2 separate regions of the Homo sapiens genome follow, and region 2 is linked to region 1. Evidence: promoter capture Hi-C in 16 types of primary human blood cells and fetal thymus (Javierre and others, 2016). All regions are on one chromosome and are shown on one strand. Each heading gives the region's core, a stretch centred on a gene start or on the middle of the fragment in contact. The rest is flanking DNA. Distances are from core to core; before and after follow the strand shown.

What was found. The method cuts DNA at HindIII sites, captures the fragments that hold promoters and counts their contacts. A CHiCAGO score of 5 or more calls a contact.
Region 2: a contact is called between a fragment that was not itself captured here and the fragment with the promoter of GNAZ in region 1, in 1 of 17 cell types (megakaryocytes). The highest score is 12.4, in megakaryocytes.

The regions. Positions count from the first base shown.
Region 1 is chr22:23,068,647-23,073,807 of GRCh38, forward strand. GNAZ (G protein subunit alpha z) reads left to right here and starts at 1,873. Exons shown (of 3, transcript NM_002073.4): 1 at 1,873-1,924. All of the region lies in intron 4 of RSPH14 (radial spoke head 14 homolog), which reads right to left. RefSeq lists silencers at 1,548-1,687, 1,828-1,967 and enhancers at 2,574-3,454, 3,455-4,336. The HindIII fragment of the contact is 14,108 bases long and covers 705-5,161 here.
Region 2 is chr22:22,955,890-22,961,256 of GRCh38, forward strand. No RefSeq gene overlaps it. Among named protein-coding and RNA genes, the nearest start is that of IGLL5, 71 kb to the left of the region's middle. The HindIII fragment of the contact is 1,860 bases long and covers 2,769-4,628 here.

The sequences.
Region 1 (5,161 bases), core at 623-3,122:
TACCTCTGCAAACAATTCAACTCTGACCCCCAGACTCTGCAGTGGAAACAGCCTCTGGCTATCCCAAGACATGCTAATATGCATTTCCTATAAACATTAACCCTCAGAGCCACCCTCTGACCACAGTCTGTTACATTCCCTTTTGACAGAAGAGGAAACAGAGGCTCAGCCAGGTAGCACAGCTGCCGGTCTCTGTGTGGTCCTCCTGGCAAGAGGTCCAGCCTGACACAGCCTGGTGGTGTGGAAGGCAAGCACAAAGGGTAGCTAGCCCCTCAGCCATTGGCTGAATTCCCTTGGTCCTCACTGGACACCTCCAGTGAGCACTAAGTTCGCCTCCATGATGCCCATAACAAATATACGTCCTGTTCCTGACAGTTGAGGCAGCACCCTCACAGGTGGCCCATGACCCTGCAGGTACGTAACGCAATGGTCTCCATCTCACAGAAGAGGAAACATTCCTAGGGAGGTTATGGGATGATGCTGAGATGCCACAGTGTCCAGCTGGCAAAGCCAGGCACATGCCCCTGCCCCTCCACCACAGAGCTATGATGGAGAGACCGCTCCATGGACCTCTGCCATGGTCAGGTCCAGGGCTGCTGCTCAAAGAATGGCATGATCCACACCTTACAAAGGTGTGAGGTGATAAGGAACGCGTTAGCTGGGAAGGCATTTGCACTTTGTCAGGGATGCTCTAGGATACACAAAGCTTCAGATTTACAAAGATGGAGAAGAGAGACAGGAGCATTCATGTCTTGGCCCTCTGGCTTGAGAGTCTTTTAAGCATGGAACTGAGGGACTCCTGGCCCTGAGGTCCACAGATAGGCTTTGAAATTGAAAACAGAATTTTGCAGCCTGGGTTCAGCTGCGTTTTGCTGAGGGTCTGATGCTTTCCACCAGCTTCCCAAAAGCGCCAATCAGTGGCCTTAACTGAACTGGCTCTCTCACGCTTGTCTGGGCTGGGGGCCAGCTCCTCGGTCCTTCTCCCTTCCTTCCCTCCCAAGGCCACCCTTCCGTGTGCCAGGATTGCCAGGGACGCCAAAGAGCCCCTAGACACTGGGCGGTGGCGGCGGGGGGCGGCGGCAGAGATGACTAATGCTCCCTCCCATCGCTGCACAAACCTCACCGGTGTAAATCGTTAGGGTTTGCATAGGCCTTTCACACGTTCTGAAGGATTGGTGAGACAATCCAGGAAAGCAGGTGCCACTAGCCCCACTTTGCAAACAGAAAGGCTGAGAGAGGTCAGTCGGTTGCCCAAGGACGTAGAGCTCACAAGAGGCCGAACTGGGTTTGAACCCGAGTGGAGAGAAGGCGAGCCGGGACTGGCTGCAGTAAAGAGGGCCAGGACCATGGCTGGGCTCAGGCTTGGTTTCCCGGGCTGCCAGAGGTGGCCCCTGGGGCTCGGCTACCAGGCCTCAGCGCAGCGGAGTCGGTGGAACGCCGGCGCGGGGAGCTCTTGCGGGACTGCGGCGCGCGCGGAGCTGCGACCCCGCCCCTGTCCGTCCCCATTGGGCTACTGGCCCGTCCGTCAGCTGCCTGTGCCCAATGGACAGAGGGCCGGCGCTCGTGGCGGGGCGGAGGTGCCCGGCGCGTGGTGCCCGGCGGGCGCGCGGCACCCCCCCGCCCGCGGTTGGCCTGGCAACGGGCTGCGCTCGCGGCTCCGCCCCCTGCCGGCGGCGGCGCGGCGCGGGGCGGGCGGACCCGCGGACTGGCGGCGGGCGGCGGGCGGCGGGCGGCGCGGGAGGGCGGGCGGAGGGAACCAGGCCGGCCGGAGCGTGTGCGCCGCCCGCGGTCCGGTCACGTCCCCGCGTGGGCGCCGCTGCCCGCGTCGTACGGAACGAGGGCGCCGCGGCCCCGTGCTCGCCGCCCCGCCCCGCCCCGCCCTGCCCGGAGCAGCTCGGCAGATGCTCTGTGCTGCGGCCCGGAGGTGAGTGAGCCGACCCGCGGCCGGCCGCGCGCCGCTGAGCCTCAGGGGTCGGGGGCACGGCCGGGGCATCCACCTTGCCCCCACTTGGGACTCTTCCCAGGCCTTTGTGCCCCGGATCCGCCAGGACGCAGCGTCAGGGATGCCCCTCAGGGGTGGGGGACACCAAGGGCGGGGACGCCTGCGAGGTGGGCAGGGGGCGGCCTCTGGTCGGGCAGGTGCTGGGGGAGGGATGCGCCGCCAAGCCGATGACCCCGCGGGAGGGGGCGGTTGAGGACCCGGGAGGGTGGACAGAGGGCGCCGGGGATGCCGCGCGGGGCCGCCGGGCGCCCCCAAGCAGCGGCTGATGCGGAGCCCGGGCGGGCCAGGCGAGCTGCGGGAGCGGCGCTGAGGCGGGTCTCCCTAGGGGGAGGATCAGGGAGGGGCGGCCGGAGCCGATGCAGGGCCTTGCCTGAAACCGAGGAGAGGGCCCCAGAGGCCTGGGCCCGAGGACCTGGGCCCGCAGACGGACAGCTAGCAGTTCTCGGTCACTGCTCTTGCAGCGAGCAGGTTCCTCACAGGCATTTAGAGGAAGAGATGAGTATCGACCTGCTGCGATTGTAATACGTTCCCGGCTCAATATTTTTTCCCTTAAAAGGCGGTGGGGGTGTTTGGGGGAGGGGAGTGAGGGCCTCAGGGCTGGCGCTCCGTATCCTGCGGGCGATCCGAGGGGGCTCTGCCTTTAGGGCGGTGCTGAGCCTTCCTGGGTGATGATGGCAGGATTCGGCCTAGGCCGAGAATGGGGGCTCCTGTTAACTGAGACAAGAGGATGATGCCAAGCGAGACCAGCGTTCCGCGTAGTCCGTGTTGGGGTGGAGGGACCCGCCTGGTAGAGAGGTCTGTCTTGCTTGGGGAGACAGCTGAGCCCCTGACCGGCTCCTTTCTGCCCAAGTGATTTCCCTGCCCTGGGGATTGAGCTCTCTGGAGAAGGCTCCTTGGCCAAATTCAATTAAGCAAATATTTATTGAGTGGTCACTCCCCCAGAGCTTGACGCTGGGGTGCACCGGGTGGGAGTGGACTGGGCCTGCCCTCCCAGGACTGATTGACCACCGCATAGGGGAAAACGTCTCTACTCGACCAACCCCGCTTGAGTGCAGGTGCAGGGGCCTCGGGAGGGACCTCAGAGTGGTGTCCTGGGCTGGGGGGTCAGGTGAGCTCGTGGGCAACATGACATTTGAACTGGAGCTTGAAGGACATGGGCACAGCTAAGCTGGGCATTGTGGGCAGAGAGGAGAGAATAGACCGAGGCACTTGGGCAGTTAGGTCTGATGGGAGCACTTAGCATGCCTGGGGAGTAGGAGGAGGTATGGCGGGAAAGGCCGGTGGGGGCTGCACGGGGCTGAGGGAGCTGGGAAGTGGAATGACCCCACTGCTGGTTAACTGTGGCTATGGTGGAGACCACGGCTTCCTCATCTGTAAAAGCGAAGCAGTTCCATGACCCCATGAGCTGGGGTGGGCCTGGAGAAGAGCTAGCTTTAAAGACTGGGGAAGGCTCCTTGCAGTCTGAGACTGTGCTTCCAGGCACTTCTCCCTCGGGCACAGCCAGGGCACTGGGTAACCACCCAGGCAACCCCCTTGTTAGGATTGAGTTGCCTGTTTCGGGGATGATGCTTAGCTAGTGACTCTGTGCCTCTGGGATGTGGATGTTTGAGAGCAGTAATCGTGGCAGCCTGGGAGCATCCATCTACGGGGTGCAGTGGGGGTGTGGATGGCCTGGCGGTGCTTGGATAAAATATGCGCCTTGAGCAAGCCTCATTCTCTAGGAATGAGGAGATGCTGGCATCTGGTTTAAAAGTCTTCCTGTGTGTTCCTCTAACTGACGTTGATTTTCTGAGACAGGAGGTGAATAAGACATAATTTCTCCCCCTCGGAAATTGGTGTCACTTTCCCCCCTAAGTCAGCTCCCTCATTTCTGGGGATGTTTTTGCTCTCCCTCTGAAGGGGCTGTTTGTTACTCATCTTTGTAGTGTGCCTACCCTCCCCACCCAACACACACTTGGCTTTGGCCAAGGCCCAGGTTGATGCAGCGAGAACAGGGCCTGCCCTCGTGGGGTGTGCAGTCTGTGCTGAGCAGGGTGAGCTGCTGTGCTCTGTGCCTGTCGCCTGGACTGTTGCAGGGACCTGGCATGTGACTGTGGGTTTGGGACACAGGGAATGGATTCTTCCCTCTGTCCCCAGCCTCTCAGTCCTTTTGTTTTCTAGAATCTCAGGAGGAACCTCAGAGACCTGGAGGCCCCACCAGAGTGGCCAGAACCTGGTGCAGGAGTATGGGTGGGGTCTCAGTCTGGCCCTCAGGAGCTTCTAGAACAATTCCAGGAATTTGCAGGTAACTGGATTGACTTCACAAGGGCTGCCCAGGGCCCCCGCAGAGAGGCCAGTGGGACAGGAATGCTGAATATAGCAATTCAGGAATGCTGAATTTAGTCATCTTGTGTGTGAACACATGTGTGCGGCTTCCTCCCCTGGAGGCAAGGAAGGCAGCCCTGTGCTGTCTGTCCCACGCTAGCCTCAGAATACTTAAGACGGTGTGTGGTGGCAAAGGCACTCTCACTGCTGCTGACCATGGCAGGTGCACGGGCACACTGGAGGAGGCAGGTCAGCATGCTGCTCTCCCGAACCCTCCAGCAAGGAAACCTGGGGTAGCCAAGCCTCTGAGCACCTGTGAGCACTGTGCTTGGCTGGAAGGAGCACAAAGCGAAATGAACAGAGGCGTCAGTGCAGATGCCAAGGGTCAGCCCCAGGCAGAATCCCAGAGCAGAGGCTATGCTGCGGCCTGGGCAGAATGAAGAGGGACGTGGGAGCACCCAGACTGTTGTGGCTCCGGGGTGGTGAGGTGAGCATTCCAGTCTAGGTGGCAGAAGACCTGGAGTCAGGTCCTGGTCCCACCATCCTAGGTCCAGCCCCTTTTTCTCTGAACCTCATTATCCTCATCCATACCCAAAGCCAAGAGTGCCCTGCCCTGTCCCCACACCAGCCCCTGCCACACATTTTGGCCCTTTCGTGCGAACACCGCCAGGGGAGGCGCTTCACAGGATTGAACCAACAGGGACCGCTTGACAGATCCTAGAGCACATAGGAGGAGACATCAGCCCTCTGGACTGAGCCGGAGGAGCAGAACCTCACGCGATTCATCCATTCATTTGTTCAGCTAACATTTACCAGCGCCTGCTGCATGCCAGGCACTGTGCCAGGTGCAGGGGT
Region 2 (5,367 bases), core at 2,449-4,948, 110 kb before region 1:
TAAATAATCCCACCATGGCTGATTTCAAGCTACCAAGGTGCCCCACTGAACACAGAGTTGGGAAGAGATGCTCTTAAATCATCAGCTCTCCTGAGCTGGTGCAAGCCAGTTGCGGGACACCACTGGGCTTTTTGCAACCCTGTTTCTTAATTCTCAGTTCTGGGCAGGCTGTAGTCGCCTCCCCGTGCTTCTGTACAAGTAGACAGCGACATCTGGTGGCAAAGTCAAGCAAATCCCAGACCATGTAGAGAAGGGCCTAGAGTATGGGAAAACAAGAAACACCCCTCTTCTCCCACCAGCACCCCCACGAAAGGTTCCTGTCCTCTTCCTCAACCAACCCTGGGACCCATCAACTCCAGCAAAAACTCAATGCCTGGGGAGTTCCTACATGGGCAGCCTGCAGGTCTCCCTTCCTGTGGCAGCTGGGGTAGAGTGGCATGGCTCCTGGTGTTGGAATAAGCAGTGACCTCGTACAGCAGTCATTCCCACTGCCTGCCTGCAGACCCCTTGCCTTACCCCTGGTTGAGAATTATCAGAAGCGTCCCTCAACCCAAAGCAGTCACCACAGCACTCCTAGAACAAGAGTTACTCAGCTAGTGTGACCAGAGCACTGGTTCACCATGAGCGCTTCCTCCTGGAATTTGGACAACCATCTCAGGGCCTTTCTTTGGTCAATTTCCTTCTGATTCTGTGTGTAAGACTTGTGTGCAGAATCTCAGTGGCCTAAATATCTCAGCCTATGGTAGGATAGGCGGGGAAGTGAGGGTGGCCCCTGCAATAGCAAAGCCATTACACTTAGCCTTTGGCCACTAAAACCCCCTATGGCAGCAACAGGCTGCTGACCACCGAACGTTCACCTCCTTTTCCATAGTGTATTCCTTTTCTTGAGACAGGGTCTCCCTGTATCACCCAGGCTAGAGAGCAGCAGTGCATCCATAGCTCCCTGCAATCTCAGACTCCTGGGCTCAAGTGATCCTCCTGCCTCAGCCTCCTGAGTAGCCGGGACTACATGCACACACCACCACACTTAGCTAATTTTTGTATTTTTTGTAGAGATGGGGAATCTCATTATTTGCCTAAGCTGGTCTCGAACTCCTGGCCTCAAGGAATCCTCCCACCTTGGCCTCCCAAAGTGCTGGGATTACAGGCATGAGCCACCACATCCAGCTTCCATAGTGAACTGTTAAAGAAGGCATCTGTTTAGCCCAGGACTCTACTTTCCATATCCCTAAAAGGGCAATGTGTGAAAAGATTATCTGTGCAAATATAAAGTCCCTGGCTGCTGCTTCTACAGACAAGCTCCTACTGCATCCTCAGGCAATCACCTTTCCACCCTGGGGCTGATCCTCCAGACCTGCACCAGCCCACCCACATACCCCTGGGCAATGATAGGCCCTTCCATGGACCAGCTTCTGCTCACACTCTCTGGCAAGCGTCTTGGCCTCTGGCAGGCTACAGCTCACAGCAAAACCATGCTCTCCTGGAAAAGTCTGAATCTCAGCCTTGCCTGGGGTCCCATTCTCAAGCTCTTAGTTCCTTCACTCACTCCGCGTGAGTCGGTAGCTGCTTTCTGAATCTGCTACTCATGAACGTTGTACAGTCCTGCTTTATCCTTTTCATGAGCTCACCACTCTTTATAGTTTAACAACTCTGAAAAAATCCCTGTTCAAATTACTGGTGTGGTTTGCCTCCTGAGTCTACCCTGGTTGACACAATATCTCAGCATCAAAAGATGGCATGGAAATGAAGGTCATCTCCGAACTGCTACTATGATAGACCTTCAATCAAATGAAGTCAAATGAAGCCTTCAGGCATTCATCTTGCAGAATGCAAACAGTCAGCTGCCACAGGGAACTGCAGAAGGCAAGCGTTGTGACCAAACCATAAATGCTGGTCAGCCCCATCTAAATCAGGTTAAAATGGGGATAGATATCAGCCAGTGAGAACACAGGCAGCTTTCTTTGGAATGGCCACTTCGGGGGTGGTGGGTGAGCAAAGAATGGATGCAGATGCTCTCTCCTCTCCAAGGAGCAATGTGGACTTCAAAGCCCACAAAGATTCGTGAGATTTATTCCTAGAATAAGTACCCTAGAGAAGCCCGCCCAGCAGAGTATAAAAGAAATCAAGAATTTCCGGTGGACCCAGAACGTGTCACAGCTTGGGGCCAAATAAATTACACTCCTGCAAATGCCTCGGGCCTAGCTCCAGTAAAAAGTGACAGGACAGCCATGTGTCCAAAAGCTAGTGCATTGCACAGCAAGGAGGAAACCAATTTCCTTTAGCCTTTGCTCCCCTAGAGACGTCATATGACCAGAGTGAGGTTGGACACTCAGCTCTCTATCTTTTCAAATAATTCCCCATCTCCAAGTTCATGGAAAGAGAGAAAACCATCATGTCACCATAGCGATGACTCCTCTAATGATGGTTCAGAGTGGAAAACTTCTGACTTCAAGGATGGCCTCATACAGGATGGACGTGAATGCTGGTCCTCAAAACCCCAATGTCACATTTTTAAAAATCTGACCATCCCTCAGTCAGTGTCAGGGGTTTTCATGTGGGAAACCTCAAAGAAGGTGAGAAGGCAGGGGAGGTGTAACCCACAGTAATTATTAATAAAACCAACATTCCAGGACAAACTACTGCTAAGGAGGTTGAATTTTTTTTCTAAATGATCCTTCACAAGTAAAATAAGGAACTGGAGTCCTTGGACTGATCGCTATATTATGCTAAATGGATGACAGAATACAGCTCAGGAGTCAAAGATCATAAGCTTCCAAGTGGCCACAGGGACAATAAGCCTTTCAGCCCTTGGGTAATAAAGTCAGACAATCTGGTCCAGCAGCCAGAAGATGGCTGAGCTGGAGGAACATCGATGATGGGACAGTCCCAGCGTCCGCCCTCTCTGCTGGAAGGACATTAGCTGCTGAGAATAACTGGATCCAAATTGTTAACGTGACCCCCCACTGCTCATGGGGATGAAGAAAAAGATCTGGGGTGATTGGAACCTTACAAAGCAGGGACACAGATGCTTTATGTCTTTCGAAGGTCTAGTTGTAAAAACAAGACCCGAAAGCAGCCTCTCGGTCTTTTCACTGCTGGCCAGCAAAACTGGGAGAGGACTATGTTGTGATGTCCCCAGGATATCCTTCATGATTGCCACCAAGATCTGCTGGGATAGGTGCCCAAGACCTGGAAGGAACACTAAACTAGAGACCCAGGGATGCACACACCTTGCATGTTCTCACAATGAGGCTAAACCAGACTCATCACCGAAGAAATGCCAGCCAACAGCCTGTGGACATGGATGCAGATTGACTATTCCAGCCCCTCAGTGAACAAGCTCCAAGTGTGTTTCCTTGTAAAGCAGTTATACAGGTCAAAAATCACTTCATCACAAATGAAATACGGTCAAACTACCACAAAACACAGGGCTAAAATATCTCATCACCGGAGGGTGCCAGAGACCACCAAATATAATCCAGATTCAAGGCAGTCCATGTGAAAATTGCCCACCAGGTGGCGGAAATGCAGGGAGACGGCCAGCATGTACAGATAATTTGTTTCCCGGGTCCACACATTATCTGATGAGAGTGAATCTGACCCTAGAAGAGAACTACACAACTACTTGGTTGCATTAGGGTTCAACAAGACTGTGCACGCTCCAAAAATTCTCAAAAAGGTCAAATCCAAGTAACAAGGGTTTTAGCCTATGAACCAAGGTGTGGCTAGAGAAAAGATTGTTTGAATTTGAAAAGAAGCTAGGAGGTTGACTCACTGGGGCATCTATCCTTGAGTCTTCCTGCAGTGGGAGGCAGAGTGAGCGGTCAGCTGGGCATCCACATCTAGAGTGTTGAAAACCTCCTGGGGGTGGAGACGGGGGACTTCCACTTCCAGAATGGGCAATTGTGTGTGTGTATAAAATATTTAAGATATATGTATTTATTTAAAGTCTCTAGAAATGGCCTTAGGGCATACAGCAAATAAAAAAACATTTAATTCAAGAACATCTATTAAAACCTGGCAAGAAATGGGAGGGTCTGTGGCATTTCAACCACGACCTGCTCCATTCCTCCCACTGCCAGCAAAATGTGACAGAAACTCCACTCCAGGTGGGTACAGCCAAGGACACAGCACTGTCTCCACCCAGCTCCCAGTCAAGGGCTATGGTATTTTCCCAAGAAGGAAAATCCATCAGCATTTTTCTTCCCACCCCAGCTACCTGTTGCAGAGACTAAATTCCAGGTGATTGTAGTAATCGGTTGAGGCTCTCTTCTTTTGCTCAGCCCCTACTTGTGGGACAAAAGCCCTGCCTTGGGTGCAACACACTGAGAATACTGGCACCATCAACCAGCTCATTTGTAAAGTAGAGGTTCCATGCTATGAGAAGCAAGCTGGGAATACAATAGACTCTCCAATAAGCACCCACCTCCTAAAGCAGGGGTGTCACTCAGAAAGTAGCTACCTACCACTGTCCCCACCCAGCCCCAGAGCCATAGCCAAAAGCTCCTGAAACATTTCCCCAAGAGGAAAGGCAGGACATAGAGAGCTCTAAAGCCCTTCCCGAATGAACTGACTTTATTTGCAAATGAGTACAAAGTTCAACATTAAGGGGACTTTCAAAACAATGAAGCTTGGGCAAAAAGCAATTGAGAGGAAACTGGTAAGTTCATTAGTGACATAAACTAGACCATAGGCCAGCTAGTTTATCAGAGAGAACCAGGAAAAGACATGGCTAAAAACAGACCTCTTGGGGTCAAAGCAAACCTCAAACACTGACCTCAAAAACTATCCCTGCAAATGAGCCTCAGTTTAATTGGATAAGTCATCTCAATAAAGGTGTTTTTTAAAGAAAAAAAACAGCAATAACAATTATACATTCTGGTCAACATGGAGTAACAGGAGCTGGATTTATTTTTAGGCCTGGAATAATTTTAAAAACAACACAAAATATTTAAGTCACTGGACATCAGGCAATGAAAGATAGTGGTTTATAAGAGATGAGAAATGAATAAGATGAGCCCCACGATTGCCCCAGATTACTGCATGGAGAGTTTCCAGTCTGAGGCTCAAGGAGGAGAGAACGTAACCACAGCCCACTGGCCTCCCCGAGTTGAAGAAACAGAGCTGCTTGGGATCCCAGGCCGCTGGAGTTCATAGGGCAGAGTACCAAAGAGGAGGGAGCTTAACAGAAAGAGAACTCTGCAAATACGAGAGTGTAAGTATTATACTGAGTAGTGATCAGTGTATGCATATGAGGAATGTACCTGAGGCCAAGAAAAAGACTACCCAAAAGCATTGAACAGAACAATCCCCAGAGAAAATTCAGGGCTGAAAATAATGCCTGACCTCATCAACAAGTACAGAAAA